Linked DNA regions of Homo sapiens: regions 1 and 2 are each linked to region 3. Evidence: promoter capture Hi-C in 16 types of primary human blood cells and fetal thymus (Javierre and others, 2016). All regions are on one chromosome and are shown on one strand. The core of a region is centred on a gene start or on the middle of the fragment in contact, and the rest is flanking DNA. Distances in the headings are between cores, read along the strand shown.

What was found. The method cuts DNA at HindIII sites, captures the fragments that hold promoters and counts their contacts. A CHiCAGO score of 5 or more calls a contact.
Region 1: the fragment with the promoter of SRSF9 here is called in contact with a fragment that was not itself captured in region 3 in 1 of 17 cell types (M2 macrophages); the score reaches 5.3 in M2 macrophages.
Region 2: the fragment with the promoter of DYNLL1 here is called in contact with a fragment that was not itself captured in region 3 in 3 of 17 cell types (naive CD8 T cells, naive CD4 T cells and erythroblasts); the score reaches 5.3 in naive CD8 T cells.

The regions. Positions count from the first base shown.
Region 1 is chr12:120,467,568-120,471,586 of GRCh38, forward strand. It overlaps SRSF9 (serine and arginine rich splicing factor 9), which reads right to left and starts at 2,181. Exons shown (of 4, transcript NM_003769.3): 1 at 1,855-2,181. The coding sequence starts at 2,042. It also overlaps a transcript of DYNLL1 not described here. RefSeq lists silencers at 1,420-1,589, 1,840-2,139. The HindIII fragment of the contact is 9,777 bases long and covers 1-3,665 here.
Region 2 is chr12:120,494,616-120,498,570 of GRCh38, forward strand. It overlaps DYNLL1 (dynein light chain LC8-type 1), which reads left to right and starts at 1,498. Exons shown (of 3, transcript NM_003746.3): 1 at 1,498-1,601; 2 at 1,801-1,938; 3 at 3,458-3,878. The coding sequence starts at 1,807. The coding sequence ends at 3,595. NRAV (negative regulator of antiviral response) reads right to left here and starts at 1,331. Exons shown (of 2, transcript NR_038854.1): 1 at 1,208-1,331. RefSeq lists silencers at 1,042-1,091, 1,382-1,901 and an enhancer at 1,156-1,822. The HindIII fragment of the contact is 1,365 bases long and covers 694-2,058 here.
Region 3 is chr12:120,321,613-120,325,320 of GRCh38, forward strand. PLA2G1B (phospholipase A2 group IB) reads right to left here. Exons shown (of 4, transcript NM_000928.3): 3 at 3,322-3,449; 4 at 503-705. The coding sequence ends at 581. Among named protein-coding and RNA genes, the nearest start is that of PLA2G1B, 4.3 kb to the right of the region's middle. The HindIII fragment of the contact is 7,122 bases long and covers 1-3,708 here.

The DNA of each region.
Region 1 (4,019 bases), core at 931-3,430, 150 kb after region 3:
ATCTCTGGGTAAGTGTTTAATCAAGTTTTTACATCTCTAATGTGAACAGTATGCCTATCTCACAGGGTTATTGTAATGGTTAAATAAGATACTACATGAAATGCTTTGCTTGAATCTTCACATCTAGTGACACCAAAAGATAGTTTTTCTATTATGAAAGGAATGAGGGAAGATGACAATGTAGCGTATCATATAGTAAGTTTGCATTCGAAAAACAGAAGAGGGAGTTCAAATCCATTGATCCCGGCCTGGCGTGGTGGCTCAGGCCTGTAACCTCAGCATTTTGGGAGGCTGAGGTGGGTGGATCACTTGAGGTTAGGAGTTCAAGACAAACCTGGCCAACATGGAGAAACCCCGTATCTGCTGAACATAGAAAAATCAGCCAGGCATGATGGCGGGCGCCTGTAATCCCAGCTACTGGGAAGCTGAAGCGGGAGAATCGCTTGAACTCAGGTGGCGGAGGTTGCGGTGGGCCGGGATCGCACCACAGCACTCCAGCCTGGGCAACAAGAGTGAAGACCTGTCTCAAAAAAAAAAAAAAAATAGTACCTACACCTCATAAATTGTTAAAAATACTAAATACAGGCTGGGCGGGTTGCTCACGCCTGTAATCCTAACAATTTGATCCGCTGAGACGGGAGAATCACCTGAGCTCAGGAGTTCCAGACCAGCCTGAGCAACATGGTGAAACCCCTAATTTATCAATCTAAAAAAATAAGAAGGAAAGAAAAAAAGCTAAATACACACCATGGCACTTGACCCATAGCAACTGTTGAAAAACCACAATGGCACGGTTACTAAATAAGCGAGGCATAGCCTTCTCCGGCTTAGGGGTAAAAATGCCCAGTTCCGGTTTTGAGGCAAATGAGGAGATACTAGGGATGAGCTGTCAGAGTCGACTCTTCAGCCATCAACGCCTCGCGGTGCTTCCTGCCTGCCCTTCCTCAGATGCTCCCCTTGCCCTATCAATACGTCCACCCCAGGTAGGTCGGACACCCTACGAACATTCCGCGTTCCCCGGGAGCAAATGATGCTAGGAAAACAGGGTGCGGGCTCTTATTTGGCCGGAGTGGAGTGACCAGGTCAGCGCCGCAGCTGCTAACCACCACCAACCACAGTTTTGAAAGTTCCTGGGCTTTTTCCGGCCTGAGGGCCGACGCTGTTTGCAAAATCACAAGCACTCCTTAGAGCGGGGTTAGGAATCTAGAGTTTCCAAATCCCTGGAACCTTTAGCATCTCGCCAAGCCTCCCTCATCAAAGGAGGGAAGTGAAATCAGAGCCCCACTCCGGCTGTTTTAGAAGTTTTCCCGAATCCGTGATCCCTTTACAAAGCCCGGGCCCTGGCCTGCGGGGCGGGGCGCGCGAACGGCGAGCTATTCCACCAGAGATCCCTCCACGACCTCCAGCGGCATCCGCGACCCTGCAGCTTGCTCTCCAGCCACGGCGAGCACGGGCCGGGGGAGAGGCGAGCGGGAAGGGCGAACGGCGACCCCCGCGCTGCCCCGCGGCCGCTTCCCCCTACGGTGCTGCCCCAGGCAGGAGGCGGACAAGGCTCATTTGGACCCCCCGAGGCCGGTGCAGGCGGGCTTGGGCCCTCCAAAGGCTCAGCTTTTGGGTTTCTAAGTAAAATATTGGAATAATAAAAATAAAGGAAGTGACGACGGCGCGAAGGACGGCCCGGGCCTGCGAGGAGAGGCTGCCTCATCCTCCACCCGTGAGGGGGCGCCGTGAGGGGTCTGCGCGGAGGCGGGGGGAGGGGAGGCCGGGGGGAGGGGAGCCCTGGGGGAGGGGACAGCAGGGAAGGCGGGGGCCTCAGGCACCGAGGAGGAGAGGGCAGGGGCGCGGGGGCCTCACCGGGGGTCCTCGAAGCGCACGAAGGCGAAGGGCACGAGGCCGTGCCGGTTCTTGAGCTCGATCTCGCGGATGCGGCCGTACTTGTAGAACAGGTCCTCCAAGTCCTTCTCGCGCACGTCGGTCGGAAGGTTCCCCACGTAGATGCGCCCGTCGCCCTCGCCGCCGCGCTCGTCCGCCCAGCCCGACATCCGCACCGCCCGACGCCGCGGGCCCGCCGCAGCCCACGTCGCCGCCGCCGCCTCAGCACGGGTCCCCCCGCAGCGTCCCCGCGGGCTCCGAGGCGCTCAGCCGCACTGCATTGTGGGAACGCGGAGCGGAAGCGAAGGGGTCGGCGGAGGCAAAAGGAGTCCTCTTAAAGAGAACGCGGCTGCGACCATTGCGCGTGCGCGCAGGCCGGCGCCCCCTGGAGGTGCGAAGGGCCTTCGGGCGCTGACAGGGAGAGCCTGGGGCCGGGCCGTGTGGATGCCATCCCCGAGCGCGGTTCGCGCTCGGCTGAGGCGCTGGACAAGTGGCTTGGGCTCCCGCGCCTCAGTTTCTCTCTGTGGCGCCGCCTACCTCACAGACTTGTGAGCACTCACTGACGTGGGTAGCGCCCAGGGCCTGCGGGGCGCAGGAGAGCTGGAGTCAGGCGGAGACCGCAGGCTGACCCCGCAGCGGCCGGGCTGTCGCGGCCCCCACCTCAGGTCAGTAGGCCCCCGGGCCACCCTGTCCCCATTTTACAGTTGCTCAGAACTGACGGTGTCAGCATGAGATGGACTCCATAGCTTGGCCTTGAGTTTGTCGGAGTCGAGGGAGTAAGACTCTTAATGAGTATCACAGCGATCACTATAGAGTGCATCCGACTTGTGCTTTTCATCCTCTCCCGGGCAGAGTCTGAGGCCACAGAGGGGTCAGGAATGGAACCCAGAGCCATGCTCCCATCCTAAGTACTGAGTCCTTATGGAGCTCAGGTAGACACCCACCTTGGCACTTACTTTTCCACATTCACATCCCAGAACGCGGAGCATTGAACCCAGGGACCTTACAGTGAGGCCTTGCACCAGAAGACTTTTTGTTTGTTTTTGATACAGGGTCTTATTCTGTTGCTCAGGCTGGAGTGCAATGGCGCGAACACGGCTCACTGCAGTCTCGATCTCGCTGGACTCAGGTGATCCTCCCACCTCGGGGCGCCGTGAGGGGTCTGCGCTGCGTCCAGCTAGTTTATTTTCTATTTTTTTTGTAGAGAGGCTGGTCTCGAACTCCTGGGCTCAACCGATCCTCCAGCCTTGGCCTCCCAAAGTGTTGGATTACCGGCTTGAGCCCGGCGCCCGGCTGGAATACTCCTAACCTAAAGATTGTTCAGGCTGGGTGCGGTGGCTCACGCCTGTAATCCCAACACTTTGAGAGGCCAAGGCGGGAGGATCACTTGAGGTCAGTAGTTCGAGACTAGCCTGGGCAACATGGGGAAACCCCGTTTCTACTAAAAATACAAAAATTAGCTGGGCGTGGTGGCGTGTTCCTATAATCCCAGTTACGCGGGAGGCTGAGGCAGGAGAATTGCTTGAGCCCGGGAGGCGAAGGTTGCAGTGAGCCGAGATCATGCCACTGCACTTCAGCCTGGGTGACAGAGTGAGACTGTCTCAAAAATAAATAAAGATTTTTCATATTAAAAATGAAACCTGGCTGGGCGTGGTGGCTCATGCCTGTAATCCCAGCACTTTAGGAGGCTGAGGTGGGTGGATCACTTGAGGCCAGGAGTTCAAGACCAGCCTGGCCAACATGGCAAGACCCGCCCCCCTACTAAAAATACAAAAAAAAAAAAAAATTAGCCAAGCTTGGTGGCACGCCTGTAGTCCCAGCTGCTTGGGAGGATGAGGCACGAGAATCGCTTGAATCTGGGAGGCAGAGGTTGCAGTGAGCCGAGATTGTGCCACTGCACTCCTCCAGCCTGGGTGACAGAGGGAGACTCTGTCTCAAAAACAAGACAAAACAAAAACAAACAAAAAAAGGGACTAAAACCACACATTTAATCAGAAGGTAGTTGATTTCTCATTATACCATCTGAGCATTTTAAAATCAAAACAAACCAAAGACTAGACACCCACATATACTACTGAGTGTATATCTTTTTTGGAATACAAGTTGATAGTATACATCAGGCTTTCATAATATACATATACCCTTCG
Region 2 (3,955 bases), core at 248-2,747, 170 kb after region 3:
CAAATTGTTTTATTTTTATTTTTTGAGATGGGGTTTGGCCATATTGCCCAGGCTGGTCTCCAACTACTGAGCTCAAGCGATCCCCTTGACTCGGCTTCTCAAAGTGCTGGGATTACAGGTGTGAGCCATCATGCCCAGCCACAAATTGTTTTAAGGAGTAATGAGAGTAGATGGTCAGAGGAAAATGTAGAAATGTAAATAGGAAGCTTCCAGATACATGATTAACCTGATAACTTATTTATGGAGGTTCGAAAAATACATTATAGGCATTTCAGAGCTGGTTGTTCAAAACCTTGCTGTGGCCTTTGGGATAGTTGTATAAACTGACAATTATTGATAAGATTCATTGATCATTTACTATGTGCCTCACATTGTGCTGAGAGAACTTCAAATGTTTAATACTGCTAACAAGCGTATGAACTGGTTTCCTTTTACATTTAGTCCTCCTTTACTTAAAGAAGACATTCAAATAGCTAGTAAATGACAGTGCTGGGATTTAAATCCAGATCTGACTTGTCCCTCAACTCCCCCAAGATCTTGCTTTTTTAACCACTTCGTGTCTCCTCCCTAAGCCAGAGGGGACGTCATCTCTCTAACGGCCGCTTTTTCGTCCATTAGAATACCTCCTCCTCAGAGATAAATCCCAACCAAGAATCTCTCCCACACAGGAAAGACTGCCTCACCTGAGCAAGAAGCTTCACCCTGGACAAAAACCCCGGGGCTCAACACTCCCAAATCCACCCGGATCCCCATCCCCAACCCCTTAAAGGATGTCCGCATTGCTTGGCAGAGACCCCACTCTTGGGGATAATCCCTTAATTCGTAAGGAAACACCCTCCCTCCTTGAAGCCCTCCCTCAATCCTGAGGATGCCCTCCCCTAAATATTTCAGAGCAGAACCGACTACAAATGGGGCCCAGTGCAAAATGAAAACGTAAGGGTCCCTCCTGTGAGACTGCACTGCTGGTTTACCCACGAAGCCGGCCCTGCTTCAGAGATACCCTTTCAGTAAAGGGAGAGGCCACCTCTGTCGTAATCCTGCTAACCTGGGGTGCGAGATCATGCGACCTGTCGTGGTGGGGGGGCGGGGGGGTGGGGGCAGGAATGGCCACCAACTTCTAGAGACTGTTGTTCGAGAACACACCCTGGGACAACCTCCGTGAATTTGGAATCACTTCCCTTGGCCCCGGCAGAAGCTCCCTTCCTACCTCTCCAGACAGCTGGGTGGTCCTCGTAACCCGGCCGGGGCTCCACCTTCTGGGTGTGTGGGCCTCGTAGCGTGCGGCCCATTGCCCGGGCAACCGACGCCGTGAGCGGTGCATTGTGGTCTGCAACAAAATGCAGGAGAAAGATCCTGAGGGAACCATGGAGTCAATGGACCAATGGAAGAATGCCGTGGGCTGCGTCAAGCCAATAGGGTCGCGCGGCGAGGGGCGGGGCCGGCGGGAGCAGGGCGGGGCCTGAGCACTAGGCGGCGGCGGCTGGCGTGGGGCTGCTTAGATGCGCCACGGTTTCGGTAGCGACGGTATCTCTAGCCGGGCCTGAGCTGTGCTAGCACCTCCCCCAGGAGACCGTTGCAGTCGGCCAGCCCCCTTCTCCACGGTGAGAAACTCGGGGGGCCAGGGGGTGTCCTCGCTGCCTTATTTCGCCCCACTCCGGACTTAGCCCTCCGCGTAGCCCGCGCTTCCTGAGAAGTGGGGTGGGGGGCGTCGTCCCGTGGTGGCGCCGGCCGGGGTGGGGGCAGTTAGTGCCTGGGGGGCGCGGCCCAACTCAACCCCTTACCCCAGGCCTTGCCCACTAGGTAACCATGTGCGACCGAAAGGCCGTGATCAAAAATGCGGACATGTCGGAAGAGATGCAACAGGACTCGGTGGAGTGCGCTACTCAGGCGCTGGAGAAATACAACATAGAGAAGGACATTGCGGCTCATATCAAGAAGGTGAGGATGGGCGCGGGGGCCGATACGCAGCCGGGAGCAGGGGGTTCCTTCCCCCCGATCCTGCTTTCCTAAGGGCGCCTGACAGGTCCCGGGAATACTGCTGGCGGCTTGGGGCGTAGAAGCTTCCAGAAAGGACGCAGATGCATTTTGCGCTCCTGTGGAGAAGACCAGACCCCCGGCGTCCGAAGTTTTTTTTTTTTTTTTTTTAATTACCCAGCTCCGCGGGGGGAAAGCGCCACCTAGCAACGGTATCTAAGATCAGGGAGCAGCGGTTCCCCCTTCTGTGTGGTTCCTGCGCCGAGGATCCATCTGGGTGTTCCGGAGGGGGGAGCTGCGTGGGTGTTTCCAGCCGGGCCGGGAGGAGATCTTGCCAGCCTTCCAGTGGGGAGTTGAGGGAAGGTGGTGGGTGGTGGCGGGGCTGGGGGCTGGGGTAGGGGCTTGGTAAATGGCAGTCTAGAAAGCCGGCAGGACTGCCAACTTCTCGAGCAGTGTTTGCTGGAAGGGAAGAAAGCTGGCAGCCTAAGCCGTGGGAGGGTTCCAGTCGAGAATGGGAAGATGAAAGACTTCAGATGGAACAGAAATAAATGCCTTTTTTGACAAACGCAGCAGTGCGTGCCTCTAGCTTGCAAGAGCGTTACTCCCCTTCATAGCTTTAAAAGGTTTTCGCACTGCGTGCAGTTAGAGTAGCTAAATCTTGTGTGACGCTCCACAAACACTTGTAAGAATTTTGCAGAGAAAGATAACCGTTGCCACCCAATGCCCCCCACAGGCATTCTACTCCCCAGTACCTCTTAGGGTGGGAGAAATGGTGAAGAGTTGTTCCTACAACTTGCTAACCTAGTGGACAGGGTAGTAGATTAGCATCATCCGGATAGATGTGAAGAGGACGGCTGTTTGGATAATAATTAAGGATAAAATTTGGCCAGTTGACAGATTCTGTTTCCAGCAGTTTTTACAGCAACAGTGGAGTGCTTCAGTATTGTGTTCCTGTAAATTTAATTTTGATCCGCAATCATTTGGTATACAATGCTGTTTGAAGTTTTGTCCTATTGGAAAAGTCTTGTGTTGCAGGGGTGCAGTTAAGATCTTTGTGATGAGGAATGGGATGGGCTAATTTTTTGCCGTTTTCTTGGAATTGGGGGCATGGCAAATACAGTAGGGTAGTTTAGTTCTCTACACAGAACATGATAAACTACACCTGTTGATGTCACCGTCTGTCAATGAATATTATAGAAGGTATGAAGGTGTAATTACCATAATAACAAAACACCCTGTCTTTAGGGCTGACCTTTCGTCCTTTGACCTCCTCAGCCTCCATTCCCATCTTCGCTCAGACTGCAAGTATGTTTGTATTAATGTACTATGTAGGCGGCTTGGAGCTGGGGAACATTCTTTCATTCTAAGAATTTGCAGATGCTGACGTTCCTCCTTTCTGCCCCTACAGGCTCTGGCTTATCCAAGAGGCAAACACTGACCTCTGGTAATTAAAATCCTAGTTCTTTTCTTTTGTCTTTTCCAGGAATTTGACAAGAAGTACAATCCCACCTGGCATTGCATCGTGGGGAGGAACTTCGGTAGTTATGTGACACATGAAACCAAACACTTCATCTACTTCTACCTGGGCCAAGTGGCCATTCTTCTGTTCAAATCTGGTTAAAAGCATGGACTGTGCCACACACCCAGTGATCCATCCAAAAACAAGGACTGCAGCCTAAATTCCAAATACCAGAGACTGAAATTTTCAGCCTTGCTAAGGGAACATCTCGATGTTTGAACCTTTGTTGTGTTTTGTACAGGGCATTCTCTGTACTAGTTTGTCGTGGTTATAAAACAATTAGCAGAATAGCCTACATTTGTATTTATTTTCTATTCCATACTTCTGCCCACGTTGTTTTCTCTCAAAATCCATTCCTTTAAAAAATAAATCTGATGCAGATGTGTATGTGTGTGAATTACAATTTGTTCAAATAACAGCGTTGAAGACGGTCACTTGATCAGATGCCCAGGTTGGTGGGGA
Region 3 (3,708 bases), core at 1,072-3,571:
GAGTAAATAATCAGTAGATGGTGATCGTTAATCATTACTCAGGTTTCAAGGTGCTTGCTTGCTTCCTGGAAGTGTCTTTCTAATTCAACTTAGCTTCCAAGGCTGGAAGAAATGATACTCACAAAAGACTAGGCAGAGTAGCCAGGCGCGGCGGCTCATGCATGTAATCCCAACACTTTGCGAGGCCGAGCCAGGCAGATCACTTAAGCTGAGGAGTTTGAGACCAGCCAGGGCAACATGGCGAAACTCTGTCTCTACAAAAAATACAAAAATTAGCCAGGCATGGTGGTGCATGCCTATGGTCCCAGCTACTCGGGAGGATGAGGCGGGAGGATTGCTTGAGCCCGGGAGGCGGAGGTTGCAGTGAGGCAAGGTGGCATCACTGCACTCCAGCCTGGGCCACAGAGCAAGACTCCACCTAGAAAAAATAAATACATAAAAATAAAAGAGTAGGCAGAGACCTAGTTTATAGACAGAGAATAAAACAATATCCAAACATGAGGTCTTTCAACAAGGTGCTTTATTGGAGAGTACAGTGTGAGATGAGGCAGATAGAGGTGATGCTTTTGAGAGGTGATATTCAACTCTGACAATACTTCTTGGTGTCCAGGTTCTTGTGTGCCTTGTTATATGGAGCTTTTGAAAAGCAGATGGCAGCGTTGCGGTCGCAGTTGCAAATGAAGGCCTCACACTCTTTGTTTTTGCCTGGAGAGGGATGAAAGGAGAGGACTGAGCCAAGGTGGACCCTGTTTTGTACAATCTGGGGCAAGAAGAATTAACTGGAATAAGCTGGCAGCCATTCCACTGATGCACATTTAGGGCTGACAGATTAAGTGAATACAAGTACATCAGGATGCCCAGTTAAATTTGACTTTCAGATAAACAATGAATGCAATATTTGGGACATATACCCCCCAAAAAATTATCCATTGCTTATCTGAAAGTCATATTTATCTGGGCATCCTGTGTTTTTTTGTTTTGTTTTGTTTTTAAGACGGAGTTTCCCTTTTGTCGCCTAGGCTGGAGTGCAGTGGCGTGATCTCAGCTCACTGCAACTTCTGCCTCCTGAGTTCAAGTGATACTCCTGCCTCAGACTCCTGAGTAGCTGGGACTACAGGTGCTCGCCACCATGCCCAGCTAATTTTTGTATTTTTATTAGAGAGGGTGTTTCATCATGTTGTCCAGGCTGGTCTCAAACTCCGGACCTCAAGTGATCCATTTGCCTCGGCCTCCCAAAGTGCTGGGATACAGGCGTGAGCCACCATGCCCAACCTAGTTTCTCTACTTTAAAGCATGTATTTTAAAAATTATGGAACATCCTTAAATGGAATACTACATAGACATTTAGAAAAATTAGGTATGCCTGCACATGGAAATTTTCCCAAATAAAAAAAGCTAGTGTATGCCCCAAAAATCTGGAGGAATATGTAACTGGTTATCTTTGGGTAGTAGGATTATAGATGCCTTCCACTTTCCATAATAGATATTTATGTAGAGTTTGAAGTTGCATTACTTTTGGCTTGTTTACTTTTATAACCAAAATAAACAATAAGATTACAGTTAAAATGCATTTAAACTTTATTACATATAATTTACGTATCTCTGCTTACCTTCAGGAATCTTATTAGTTTTGTTTCTCTCCGATCCTTTATTTTATTTATTTATTTTTTTGAGATAGAGTCTCGCTGTGTCGCCCAGGCTGGAGTGCAGTGGTGGGATCTCGGCTCACTGCAACCTCTGCCTCCCAGGTTCAAGCAATTCTCTTGCCTCAGCCTCCCGAGTAGCTGGGACTACAGGCATGCATCACTACACCCAGCTAATTTTTGTATTTTTAGTAGAGATAGGGTTTCACCATATTGACCAGGCTGGTCTCGAACTTCTCACCTCAAGTGATCCACCCACCTTGGACTTCCAAAGTACTGTGGTTACAGGCTTGAGTCACTGTGCCCAACTGAGTTATTTTTAATTAATATGAACAAACATCCTCTAATGCAGGTTTCTTGTCTTAGTTGCAAACATTAAAAAAAAACTGTGTGTGAGTGTGTGTGTGTGTGTGTATTTCTCTGGGGAGAGGGTTCATAGCTTTCATCAGATTTGTAAATTTGGCCTTCTAAAGTGGAGCAGGAGGATGTATAAGCAAATTAAGCCATATTATTCAGTGACTAAAATAGTAACAATGAAAAAACAGTAACAATAAAGGTTTGAGGCAATATGAAAAAGTCATAACAAGGTGATAAGTGAAAAAGCAGAATGCAAGATTGTATTTATTCTGCAAAGTTGTCAAGATTGTTTTAAAAAAAGAAAAAGAAAGTTTATATCTAGGCTGTGCATTCATCAATTATTTATTGAGCACCTACTATATGTCAGACACTGCTCTAGATCTGGGGATATAGCAATAAAGAAAATAGACAGTAATCGGCCAGGCACAGTGACTCACGCCTATAATTCCAGCACTTTGGGAGACTGAGGCAGGCAGATCACTTGAGGTCAGGAGTTTGAGACCAGCCTGGGCAACATGGTAAAACCCCATCTCTGCTAAAAATACAAAAAATTAGCCAAGCATGGTGGTGCACGCTTGTAATTCCAGCTACTCAGGAGGCTTAGGCAGGAGAATCGCTTGAACCCGGGAGGCAGAGGTTGCAGTGAGCTGAACGGAGGTTGAGGTGATGAAGTGAGACTCTGTCTCAAAAAAGAAAGGAAGAAAATAGGCAGTAATCCCTGTTCTGTGGATCTTACATTCTATTGGAAAGATGGAATGTAAAGAAATAAGTAGCCGCACATGGTGGCTCACCCCTGTAATCCCAGCACTTTGGGATGCCAAGGTAGGAGGATTGCTTGAAGCCAGGAGTTTAAGACAAGCCTGGCCAACGTAGTAAGACCCAGTCTCTACAAAAAAATTTTTTTAATTAGCCAGGCGTGGTGGTGCACGCTCGTAGTCCCAGCTACTTGGGAGGCTGAGGTCAGCAGATCCCTTGAGCTCAGGAGGTTGAGGCTGCAGTGACCTATGGTTGCACCACTGTGCTCATGCCTGGGTGACAGAGCAAGACCCTGTCTCTAAACAACAACAAAAAAAAACCCAAACTGTCACCACTTACAAGCTGTGTGATCTTGGGCAAATAGCTCAGCCTTCTGAGCCTCAGTTTTCTTATCTGTTAAGTGAGGATAATTGTACCTATCCCATAGTGTTGTTCTGAGGATTAAAGGAGACACTGCCCAGAACCAAGAAAATTAACACTAAATCATGGCTGTTGTTACTATTATTTCCCCCCGGCCTACTGAGAACCAACTAGAATTCATAGGTCAAGGAAGGGATAAACCTACTGCTACAGGTGATTGCCGAGCCAGAGCACGAGTATGAATAGGTGTGGGTGTACGGGTTGTCCAGCAGAAATTTACAGCTGTCCAGCTTCTTGGCCTGGTCATAGCAGTTGTCATGTGTCTGGCAGCACCTGGAAAGTGGGAGGGACAGCTGAGATAGGAGTAAGTGCAGAGCAATAGGTCAGCCCTCACCTGCCCACTCTCAGGAACAGGTGGGGATGACTTCGCCAAGATGCTTCAGGAGAAATGATCCTATGGCTTGAAAAAATATAAGTCCTTTTATCATATATTTATTGAAAGCATTTTTTTTTTTTGAGACAGAGTTGCTCTGTTACCCAGGCTGGACAGCAGTGACACGACCTTGGCTCACTGAAACCTCCAACTCAGTCT